Linked DNA regions of Homo sapiens: region 2 is linked to region 1. The links are contacts of gene promoters, found by promoter capture Hi-C in blood cells and fetal thymus (Javierre and others, 2016). All regions are on one chromosome and are shown on one strand. The core of a region is centred on a gene start or on the middle of the fragment in contact, and the rest is flanking DNA. Distances in the headings are between cores, read along the strand shown.

Evidence for each region. Contacts are between HindIII fragments. The CHiCAGO score rates a contact against its expected background, and 5 or more counts as called.
Region 2: a fragment that was not itself captured here is called in contact with the fragment with the promoter of TNS3 in region 1 in 5 of 17 cell types (total B cells, naive B cells, M1 macrophages and 2 more); the score reaches 14.8 in total B cells.

Annotation. Positions count from the first base shown.
Region 1 is chr7:47,578,403-47,584,637 of GRCh38, reverse strand. TNS3 (tensin 3) reads left to right here and starts at 2,527. Exons shown (of 31, transcript NM_022748.12): 1 at 2,527-2,587. RefSeq lists enhancers at 2,116-2,653, 2,654-3,191. The HindIII fragment of the contact is 9,706 bases long and covers 1-6,235 here.
Region 2 is chr7:47,646,478-47,652,712 of GRCh38, reverse strand. No RefSeq gene overlaps it. Among named protein-coding and RNA genes, the nearest start is that of LINC02902, 5.6 kb to the left of the region's middle. The HindIII fragment of the contact is 5,738 bases long and covers 29-5,766 here.

The DNA.
Region 1 (6,235 bases), core at 1,278-3,777:
CCTGCCCTCTGCTTGGCATACTAGGAGGGAGAGGCCACTCTTGGCATATTGCTGCTTTTTTTTTTTTTCAGCTAAATGTTGGAGACTTTTGTTTTCAAAGTTGAGTTTTTTTTGGATGGCTAAGGATGGAAAAAATGCACATTCCCTTTTTCAGATACTGGTTCATGCCCTGTTTTTGTTTAATTTCTTGGAAACTTGAAGTTGCAGCCTGCGAAGTGGGGAGGCCCTGGGCTGGGGAAGCGAAGCTCTGGAAGGGGCCCAGGTCCCGATTGGGGATCCAGAGAGGCTTCCCTTCATGTGCCTCTAGACGAGGTGTGGGGAACCCGGGGAACAGCCATCCCAGCCAACACAGAGTGCGTGGGGATACTGGAGCCCGGTTTTTCTTCTCCTTTCTTGGGACACTGCCAGGGAATATAACCACAGACACTGCACGAATGAGCACCCAAGTCACAGTTTTTCTAGAAACAAAGGTGTGGTTGGGGCATCCCATTCCATTGCTACCCCAACAAGGGCAGTGTGGCCGGTGGGGCCATCTGGCTTGGGTGTGGGTAGCAGTTTGGAGAGATTTTAGAAGAGGCTCCCTGACAAAGGGTCAGAGAACCCCAGCACTGCACTGAGTTTTCCTGACTGTGAGCTCTCAGACAAACAACAGTGTCACCTCCTGTAAATGGGTGCCCTAACACTGCAAGAAGCTCAAATTCATGTTGTCATTCAGCCAACATGGTTTTTGGCATTATGATGGTTTCTGTGATGCACAGAATAGCACGTAATTGGCTCTGGGTGTGAAGATCACCACGGTCTTAATGGAAGAGAGGGTTGAGCAAAGTGATGATTTAGTCCAATTGCACAGAGTGGATGGTGTGGGCAGGCAGCTGGGAAGAAGTTAAGAGTAGCCTCAAGGCCAGATAGTCCTGATCCCTCCCACTTTCTTCGCCTGACCAGGTGGGTGACCTTGAACAAGTTGCCTAGAATGTCAGATCCTGTTTCCTTATCAGGACAAAGGAGATCGTAACAGTACCAGCCTCACCCCCATTCCTAACCCAGCTGGCTGTGACCTCCTCCCCACCTTCCCCTATGGCATCTTCCCTGGCACCCCTTGACTCATCTCATTGACTCTTGACCTGGTGTCTCCTAGAGTGTAGGAAAAATGCCTGCCTCATCTCTAGGGGCTGGGGCATGGTGCTCATGAAGCCTTTGCCTGGGAATAAATACCCAGATCAGTCTGGGGATGAGAAATGACACTACCTTCCAGAGCACAGCAGGGGTTGTTCAAGTCTTCCAGAAAAGCAGCTCTTGTTTCTCCTCATGTGGTGGGAGTGGAGTCAGAGCGTGGCTCAGGCCCCACATTCTCAGCTGTTTGGATCTGGGGACTCGAAGTTTCTGGTGGTTACTTCTGAAAGTCTTTTCCAGGATAATTATTCTTGCTCGGTTTCTCTGCCATCTCTGACAGGCTGTTTTCCCTGCTTCCCCCGCTGCCCTGAAGGGGCCAGAGGAACAGGGCAGGACCCCAGGGCTGCGGATGGGTTAGGCAGCTCTGTTCCCGAATCCAAAGCAGTTCTTGGTGACTGTCCTCCAAGACTTGCCCTGGACCCTGCTCCGGGTGGGATTCTGAGACCGCCTGCTCCACGTGGCAGATGAAATCTAGGTCTCTTCTGTGAGAGGCTGGCGGGGAGGATGTTTTCCTGGAAAGGACCACAGGACAAACCGCTGATGAAATTTCTCTTGTGACCTCCCTGGAGGAAGAGCACTTCTGATTTCTGCAAACTTTTTCCATTCCCCCGATCTCACAAATGGGGAAACTGAGGCTAAGCGACTGAGTTCAGGGCCATCTGAATCTCAGGGATGGACAGTCAGGATGGACAACCTATAGGCCTTTCCTCCTCTGAGAATCTCTCTGCTCGGGATCGTTTTTCTGGTTTCCCCTGGCTTGCCTAAATTCTGCTCATTTGTCCCGGCGCATTTTAAGAAGTCATGTGACTTCTAAAGACTTCCCTGACCTCCTCCCTTCATTAGCTGGGTATTTCAGGGGCTTCTACGGCACCCTAGGCTTTCCGGAGCGGCTGTGCTCCTTTATGTATGCGCGACTCCCACTAGGCTATGAGCTACAGGAGGGAGGGTAGGTCTTGCTCCCGGAGAGCACCTTAATCACAGGCGCTGAATGAAAGAATGAACTGGTTGTGCAGGAACCAGGATCCGAACCCGCCTCCCCAGGTACTCTAACACCGGCCCGGCGGAACCTGCAAGCCTCCAGACCACTTGGAGCCTGGGCTGCTCAATGGGTCTGATAATTCCAGGTCCTCTCTGCGGCCAGCGAAGGGAGGTCCCAGGGCGCACCTCGGCAGGGCGGGGGACCCCGGTGAAGGGCGCCTGGAGGCGCGCTGCATTGTTAGGGTGATGAGGCCAGGTGACCCGCCAGGCTCGGGGCGCGGGCGCGGGGGCCGGCCGTGGCGATTGCCCGCGCCGCCTCGAGGGGGCCCTGCCGCGGGCGCCGGCAGCCAGCCAGGAGGACGGGCCCGCCCGCGCGCTACTCGGAGCCCAGCCTCGTTGCGGCCATCGCCCTGCCGGACCGCGCCTCAGGCTCCCCCAGGTACTGGGGCCGGGGAAGGAGGAAACGCGGCCACGCGCCGCGGTCCTCTTTGTTTCGGGCCCGGCGCGGGCTTTCGCGCTCCGGGCGCAGGAACGAGGCTTGGGGAGCACAGAGATCTGGAGCTGGGGCGCGGGGACTGAGTTCGGGGAGCGCGGAGACAGAGTTCGGGGAGCGCGGGGTACGGGAGCTCAGGGCGCGGGGATGGGGTCACGGGAGAACCCAGGTTAGGGAGCGCGGGGACCCGGTTGGGGGCGCACGGGCAAGGGGTTTGGTGCGCGCGGGTACGGGGTTTGCGGCGCGTGGGGGGCGGGGGCTCGGCAGGAGTCCCAGGACAGGGGCTGGGGCGCGGGCCAGCTTCGCCGGAGTCCGGGGACGGGGGCGCTGACTGGCTGGGTTTGGGGACTGGCTGGGGCGCAGGACCACTCGAGTGGGACCCGTGGCGCCCGGGCGCCCTGGACTGAGGGCAGAGACCGGAGCAGCTATGTCGCAGTCGCTGTCGGGACCGAGCGGACTTTGCTCCCTAGGACTCCGTCTCGAGACTCCAGGTGGAGAGCGCAGCTAGGGGCTTCAATGGGCAGGCTCAAGACCCTTCTCCTACTTTTTCTAGGCAAGCTCTCCAGTGCGTCTCTTTCCCTTTCCCTTTGGTGGGTGGGAGGCAGGGGGTCTTTACGCGCTTCCTTTTTTTCCCTGAAGGACGGGACCTCGGGGTGGGGGGATATTCTGGGGTGGGGGGTGCTGTCCCAGGCTGGGGGCCAGCTGTGTGGCATGTGCCTCCTGGCACGCGGGAGCTGTCGCTGACAAGCAGGAGGAGGGAGGGTCCCGGACGGCCCAGGGGTCTCTGTGTCGGTGCTGTGCAGCGGCCTGACATGTGAGTCCCGGGTCCTTTGCTTGGAGTGATTTGAGTGTCTGTGGCGGGAAGAGATTCAGGCGTTCCTCAGGCATTCTCCAGACAGTGTCAGCAGATGACCCGAACTCCAGCGTGGTTGAAAAACTCAAAGCGCCATCAGGGTGTGGGGCCAGCAGAGAGCACTACTGAGGGTGGTCACAACCCCCTGGGAAGCCCCCAGGCTTCCTTGGGGCGCATTCACACACTTTGATCTTCCGGGTTGGCTTTCCCCCCATTTTTTTCACTATTTGAATGCATGATCATGGAGGACTCTGAAAATATACTGAAAAGTATGAATGCAGAACTCATTGTATTAATATTGCATGGCCCTTCTGAACTAACCAACCCTTTGACATTTTAGATTTTCTTGAGGCTTTGGTCTGTGCATATTAATTTTTTAAATTGCTTTCATGCTTTCCCTTTTGAATGAGGTTTACTTGTTCTGGTGATTCTGGTTCTTCTCTCTTTGGGGCCTGTGAGGTTATATTTGCAAATCAATCAACAAGTATTAAGAAAGGCTTTTCTGTGCTGAGGCCTTGAGGGCCAGGGAGGGGGTGGGGAGTCGCTGCAGCTGGAGGGTGGAGGGGCAAGGCCATTACACAGAGATGGAGGTGCACTGGGTCCTGGTGGGGGTGTGGTAGCACAGGGGGTGGGGGGTGTGTACACAGGGAATTGACAGGAGGAACTGGCAGCAAGCCCGACTCCTGACCTTAGGAATAGTAATGGTGACCCCGAAGACAAAGTAACAGGCATACCGATTGAGTGTTTGCCTGTGCTAAATGCTTTGCATGCATTCATTTCATTTCACCCAAATTACATTCCTTGGAGGGAGTTGGGATTATGATTACCCCATTTTACAGACGAGTAAACTGAGGCAAAGGAAGGCTAAGTAACTTGGCCGAGATGAAATGAAACATGGTGGTAGTGCAGCCTGGGATTCTGGGACAGGACTCTAGGGTCCCAGACCCCTGTTCCTGGCTGCTGCTGCGCGTCTGTCGACTGAATTCTAATGCATGTCCAGACAGCGATTCCTCAGCTGAGGCTGCCATAGCTATCAGCAGCTCAGCTGAATTATGTCTTTAAAAAACTACCAAGATAGAAAAACTAGTAGCCCCAGGGCACTACTTATTCCTGAATGCAAATTGATTTTTTTTTTTTTAACAAAGTGTCTCTTTGGCACCTAATGTTTTGAAAGTGAGCTGTTTGCAAATGTGACTCTGGAAATAAAGGGCAGGAGAGGGGGTGTCAAAGTATGCTCTTCCACTGCAGGAGGTGTTGCTGAAGGGGATAGCAGAGACCTGAGGAGGAGGCAGTATGGCAAGAACAGTGAGTGGAAGGGCTGACCTACCATTTGGCAGTCGCAGCTTATATCTGCTTAGGACTCTACACAAGGACCCATTTTACAGATGAGTAAAATACCAAGTAAATTCTTAAAGTCTGGGAACAGTTAGGGATCTGAATGAGCCCAGTTCTCTGACTCTATGTGCCCCATTCCTTTCTTAAGATCAGCCTGTTGTAAACCACCCCTGTTCAGGGGAAGCCTCTTGTTCCCTCCCTGTGTCCCTGTGTATGAACTTGAGAGGGGGAGGAACTTTCCACCTTCCTGAGGGCAGAAAGCATTGTTTAGATCCCTGCCACTTACTAGGAAGCCAGAGACATTTGCTGAGTGCCTCAGCAGCACGCTTAGAATTGAGGCTTCGAGGCTTCCTCACAGCGGCCCCCATAGATTTCCCAGGGAGGGGCCTCCTGTCTTGCGGGTTGATCTGGTGGGTTTGCCCCATGCAGCAGGAGCTATCATGGGAAGGGTGGGTCTGGGCGTCTGAAGCTCTCCAGGAGGTCAGCTGACCCTGGGACCCCGGGTCCTTCCTGTAGGACCCCAGAAATCACTGGGGAATCAGCTAACCCCTGCAAGCTGTGCCTGGAATGACCTAGAGCCAGTCCTGTCTACCTAGAATCCTCTGCTGCTATCCTTGTTGATCTAGAATGAGGGATGCTGGTTAGTTGGTTAATTAAGTAGGTGGTTGATTAACTTAGTTACTCTCTTCCTCACAGCAAGAGTATTAAAAACCATCACAACATGGAACACAGTTCTTTCTTTCTGCCCCCACAGTGAAGGGCGTGTTGCGTGGCTTCATCTTCACAGGGATCATGGCTCACAGTTGTGTCGTTTCCACGCTGCCTCACTGCTCCTAAAACGCTGAGACAAGAAAAATCGCTGCCACCAAAATGCTGCTGAGCAGGACTAAATTCTCCTAGATTGAGGGCGTTTTGAATCTTAGAGTATGTTGAATCCGGATGCAGGCCCGTGTCCTGCCGTGGGGCTTTTCGAGTGCAGCTCGGGCAGGAACAGTGGTTTCCTTGATGTCTATCCGTTTCTCGTAAAAGCAGAAAACTAGACTCTCCAAGTTTCGTGAGCTTTCTGTTTGTACTCTGTGACTCAGGAATGTGTTTGGTACACATCCATCACTGCAATGTGGGATGTAGTGCTGAGCTCAGGGTCCCTCGGGTGTCTCCATTGTCTGCATGGCGGCATCTCCTGTCCTGCTCAGTGTACTCCAGGAGCACCGTGGCCCTCTAGACACACCTCTAACCACCGCCCCCCCCCAACCCCCTGCCCCATGCACCTGGCGCAGCTCTACCTGGTATCCCTCACCTGTTGCCTCCTACCCTCGCTGGGAGTTGCCTCTGCGAAACAGGAGGGAGGAGGCCAGTGAAAATGAGGGTGACTGAGGATGGGGGCCATCAACTTGGGGATGAAGCAC
Region 2 (6,235 bases), core at 1,648-4,147, 68 kb before region 1:
TAAGTCTCAATTTCATCATCTCCAAGCTTGGCAACAAAGCAAAGGACAAGAAAGAAAAGTATGAAGCTGTCTTTTTTAGAAAAAGAAAGAAGCATCAGGCCAGACAAGGTGGCTCACGCCTGTAATCCTAACACTTTGGAAGACCAAGCAGGCGAATCACTTGAGGTCAGGAGTTTGATCCCGGCCTGGCCAAAATGGTGAAACTCCGTCTATACTAAAAATGCAAAAATTAGACCAGGCGCTGTGGCTCACGCCTGTAATTCCAGATCGCACCACTGCACTCCAGCCTGGGCAACAGGGCGAGACTCCGTCTCAAAAAAAAAAAAAAAAATTAGAAACTTCAAAAGTACCCTTTGAAAAAAGTCTTGTTACCTCATTTTATTTATTATGTATGTATTTATTTATTTATTTTGAGATGGAGTCTCACTCTATCACCCAGGCCAGAGTGCAGTGGTATGATCTCGCCTCACTGCAACCACCATCTCCTGGGTTCAAGTGTTCTCCCTCCTCAGCCTTCCGGGTATCTGGGATTACAGAAGTGTACCAGCACGCCCAGCTAATTTTTGTATTTTTGTAGAAATGGGCTTTTGCCATGTTGGCCAGGCTAGTCTTGAACTCTTGACCTCGGGTGATCTGCCCACCTCGGCCTCCCAAAATGCTGGGGTTACAGGCATGAGCAACCATGCCCAGCCATTACCTCATTTTATAAATGAGAAAATTGAGCCTCAGGATTCTAAACGGCTTCCTCAAGGCCAGAAAAGTGAGTGACACTCCAGCATCAATCCCACGCTCAGCCTCAACCCTGTTGCTTCTCCCAAGCCTAAGTTTGCTCTCAAACTTTTTCCCTAGAGAATCTCTACTTACCAAGGCTCTGAGGATAGACCTGCGTACACAATTCAGATTTGTCCAACACATACATGAAATATTTTAGATGATTCATCGTTTATTTTACAAAATTCTTGTGAGTTGGGCATTTAGTCCATAATTCATGTGGGTTTATTTTGAGGTTTTGTGTTGAAATGATTAGATAACAACTGGAGTTCCCCTGAGAAAAGCTGCAAACATCTAGACATCACATCCTGGAGCCTGCTGTCCTTAGGGATATTTTAGCAGGGCTGGTAAGAATAGCAGAGGTGTCCTAAGGCCTCGTGTACCCATGGGTTCCAGTAAAATTGGCCAATGGGAGGAGGAGGGGCACCAAGGCTGCGTGATGTGTGGCCCAGCCCCTGGGAGCTGCAAGACACTGGATGAGTGGCTTTCTGAATCTCAGTTTCTGATCCTGTTAAAGAGGGCTAATTACCCTGCCCCTGCCCTGCTTGAGTTTATGAGAGGGTCCAAATGAGATTGATACATGTAAAACTGCCTCACAAAGATGGTAGAAACCTTTGATTTTGGCCCAGTAGGGTGAGAGGAGCCTCCCATTACTCAAGGCCAGTGACAGAGCCATCTGTCTTGCTGTGGAGCTGGCCATGGGCATTCCCACTGAGCCTCAAAATAGGGGCAACAGGCAAGAAGTGATGCTTCCAGGGTTGGCTCCAGGGCCTGGGCCACCCCTTGACACTGTTGCCCTTAATGAAGGTCTCTGCCCAGGAGCAGACAACAAACAGGGTGGGTGAAGGGGCAGCCTGAGATAATAAGCCCAGAGGGGCTGATCCTCGCTTCTAAGGAGCCCAGAGGGAGGAGGAAAGGTCCAGAGTACCCCGCACAGGAGGAATGCAGTGCCAATTAAGTGCCTGCTGCACACCATCCTCTTCCTAATTGACACAGCACTCCCAAGAAAAGCACCTTTCTCGTCTTTTAAAGTTGAGAATACAGAGATTCAGGGCTGCCATTACTTACCCAAGGGCACCAGCTGGCCAGTGGCCAATGTGGGTCTCAGCTCTGTGTACAGCTCGGCTTGGAAATGCATATTACCTCTTGGGAGAGCCGGTTTCTGGCTCAGGTGCCAGGATTCAAAAGGAGGAGATGTCCTCTCTGCTCCTCTGAGGCCTCCACCAACAGGAGGCTGAGGGGCTACCACCCCTCACACTAAGGCCCACTCCTCTGCAGAGTGAGATTGGCACTTGGAAGGTGAACCTGGTTCCCAACCACAATTCCGAGGTCACTCTAGGCTCAGAGGCGGCCCCCTTCTTCAAGGAGCAATGTGTAACTGGAGGCCTCTTGAGGCTAGGCCAATTTGGCAAAACCAGAGAGAGCCGACTCAACTGATCGGGTAGTTGCAGGTCTGAAGATTGCAGCTTGTGGGTGCTGCTCACAATGTTAGAAAACTGGTAACATGCAGTCACCTGGATGAAAAATGAGGGACTCTAGCCTCAGGGTAAGGGTAAAGTCACCCCAGTGATCCCGATAGTTTGTAAGGAGGCAAACTAGCTGGGCCGCTGTAGCGAGAATTTGGAGCAGACACTTCCCTCGATGGGCTGAGGTAATTACAGATACGAGGGATGTCTTTGCTGGTGGAGAAATGCCTCATCCTCCTGATTTAACAGTCACTAAGCACTTGCAAGTCTGAGAGAGGCTGCTGTCGGGACTGCAGGGACAAGTGGGATTCAGTACCTTCCTTGGAGAAACAAAAGGCCAGCTTTTGGTCACAGAAGGGAAGGCAGGATCCATGCATGATTCACAGTCATTACGCATTGATTGGTTCCCCAGCATCCTTCCAGGTGGTCAACGAGTTTCATTCTCTGTTGTCATGATGAACTCATTAATTTTAAAATGGTTGATTTGCCCCAGTCCAGAGCAGTCTTTTTTCTTTGTTGCTGCTCAAATTATTCCCTCTGTGGCGACTGGAAGCGTGTTTGAGTTGGGTTTTCAATCATTTAACATTGCCGCCATGAGCCTCAGAGAGCGTCCTTCTTTAATGATTAAGATGTTCCAGGCCCCACCCAGGCCAGGAATTAGGGGTTGTCCAAGGTGTCGTGGTGCTTTGGTGACTCGAGAGCACAGTCTGGCTGTAGCCCAGCCACCTCACCAAACCCACCAGGAGACAAACTCACCTAGAGACCATTCACACCCAAAGTTCTAAAGGTTTTTAGACTGAGACAGCCACCTTAGGAGAACCACTTAAAAATGCACAATACTGTGCTCCACTCTCAGCAACTGCAATACAGAGGGTCCAGGTTCAATGCCCAGATCTGTTTTGGGGGTTTTTTGTTTGTTTATTTGTTTGTTTGAGACAAGGTCTTGTTCTGTGGCCCAGGCTGGACTGAGTGGTGTTCCACTCCACTCCATTGCAGCGTGATCATGGCTCACTCCAACCTGGACCTCCCAGGTTCAAGGGATCCTCTCACCTCAGCCTCCTGCCTCCCTGTAGCTAGGACTACAGATGTGCCACCATGCTAGGCTAATTTTTGTATTTTTTTTGTAGAGATGTTGCCCAGGCTGGTCTCAAACTCCTGGCTCACGTGATCCTCCCGTCTCAGCCTCCTAAAGTGCTGGAATTACAGGCGTGAGCCACTGTGCCTGGCCCCAGAATCTTTTTTTAACATACTCCTCAATAATTCTCAAGGGCTATTATGGGCTTTCAGCAGGAGAGACCCTTGGGAACCACTGAAGGCTGTTGGTAAGGGAGTGCATGGGAGGCCTTTCTTTTGACTTTTCAGAGGAGCAAAAACCCCGAGAGATTAACAACAATCACTACATAGAATATTTTATGCTGGACCCTCAAGTCAGCATTTCAAAAAGTTTTCTCTGTCCTGCCTGGATAATTTTCTGTTTCTATTTTCCTGGGGTGGTAAAAGAAGTGGATAATTTATCAATTTCTTTCCAAACCCAAATGTCTCACCATCTCAAGCCACCCTAAATCTATTTCTGAATTGGGTGACAATCTTCTGATATGGACACATATATTTTTTAAACTTCCGTATAACTTTCTCAACAAAAATAAAGGAGAAACCTTGGAATGGAAACCCATCTATCTCCTGTGGTTTGGTTTGATGAAATCTTACTGAAACATTAAACCCACACATCCGTCTTGGGTAAAGGGAGGGAAGGGACTGAGAGTCCCTCCCAGCATGTCTGGGAGGCTTTCCCATAACTCTGGTCTCCACGGATCTGCCTGGGAAAGTATGGATTTGTAGTCATTTCTGTTTTCAGTGTTTGTTTGTTTTTTTTGTTTTGTTTTGTGTTTTGCTGTTTCATAATCCAGAAGCACACCAGCTACTCTTTCTTCGTGCGGTATTGTCTAGAGGATGTGCACAGAGCCTACTGGGACTCTCTATTTATGAAACTTTAGTGGAATGAACAACATTTTAGAGACTCAAACAGTCTGGCCAATGGACATTAACCTGAACAGTACATCCCTTCTCCTCCCGTCCCCTCTCCTTCACTCCCTAGAACACGTTCCCTGGGGTCAGGGGAAGGAATGATACCACTTGCCAGGGAGCAGCTTCTCTCTTGATCATGAGAAAAAGGACAATTCTTCAGGGTTTTTTGATCATGAAATACAGAAGGCAGGAATAAAAAAAATCAATCATACATAGGCCCTGAAAGGAAGGCTGTCTCTGGAAATGAAGACAGGTTTATAGTCCAGGCTAGGAGCTCTTCCAGAGCAGGGATGGGGTTTTTATTTTGTTTGTTTCACTTGGGTTTTCTGGGCTCTGAGTGTCTTGCACAGAGCTGACAACATAGCGCATGCTAAGTCAAGGGTGAAGTAATTAATAATTGAATCAATGTCCCTTCGCTTCAACTGTTATTAAGTCAATAGATGAATCTGGCCCTGAGACCCTCTCATAAGCTAATGTTCACTCAAGTTAGGCATGGACACTCACATGACCATGACCTGGAATCTTACACCCCACATGGTGTTTGTCTTTAACAAAAATGTCTTAACACCCTATTTCCAAAGTCCTCTAGATAACGAAGTGTCTACTCAGGCAGAGCACTGCTGATGAGCGCAGTGTCTGATGAGAAAAAGCAGAGCTAGGAGGGTGGAGAATCCTCCCGGAGCCCCTCAGTAGGAAGCAGCAGGGCTCGTTCTGTCATATGGGGCCATGCCCTTCTGTTTGCTGTTGTTCCCTGGTCCTAAACCAGGAAAGAAAGGCAGAAATGACAACTGCTTTCCTGGTATCCCTTGCCCTCGTTACGAACTCCTTTTGCACAGTCCACAAACTTAGCTGATCAACAGGAAGAATGTTTTAACATTTGAGTGAATCGAAACCACATTGGCAGAGCCTGCAGCCCAGGGACCCCTTGCTCTGTGTTTGGTGACTTCCTGCTCTGTGAGCATACAAGGGCCACGCTGCTGCATCAGCAGGCCTGCAGCTACACAGAAGAAAAGCAGCACTGGACTCAGCAGGCAGCTGGCAGCCCTGCCCCAGTCTCACCTGGCCCTTGCTCCAACCTCATTTTCTCACACTCTTGAAACAAACACAGCCCAGATGCACTATCCTGGGCTCACTGACTCAGAGAAGTACAGTGATGGCCCCAGAGGGGAGCAGAAAGCTCCCAGTACTGACTATAGTGGCTTTCACCCCATGGTACTTCTTTAGTCTTGCTTGACTGATTGACCTACATATGGATATATATTCGTTTGGGAGGCCTTGTCTTTCTGATTGACCTACAGATGGATATATATTCCTTTGGGAGGCCTTGTCCTTCTCTGGTGAGCTTATTGCATGGGAGAGACCCTTCTTCAATAGTCACTTTAGCTCAGCTGCCTTCAGGGAGCTGAGCAAGGCAGGTGTGGAGTAGAGGCTCCAGTGTTTGCTTTTCAAAGTACAAGCCACTTAAATCCCTCCTAATGAGGGGGTGCTCTGGGATTCCAAAGCTTTGCCTGGAGTTTTGGAATGACTTGGGAAAGTCCAGGATTTACGTTTGAACTCAGGCCACCTTCATTACTGGAAAAGAAAGCCTAGAAATCCTGTGCCACTATGAGTCTTTTTATCTTCCTTGCTAGATCAAGTTTTCTCTACATCTCAATCCTATAAGACAGGAAAACTAGTATGTAACTACACATCCAGAAGACACTGACAGGAGATCATTTTGAGCTGGTTGCTTCCTTGTCTTAAGGCTGTCATTTTCTCCAGCACTCAAGTTGTGGGCTACAGACCATCAACCTCAGCTTCGCTTTGGTTCTTGTGAGAAATTCAGCACCTCTGGTCCCACCCTAGACCAGAGAATCTGCATTTCATTTTTTTTTATTATTATTTTTGAGACAGAGTCTCACTCTGTCACCCAGGCTGAAGTGGAATGGTGTGATCTCGGCTCACCACAACCTCCGCCTCCTGGTTTCAAGTGA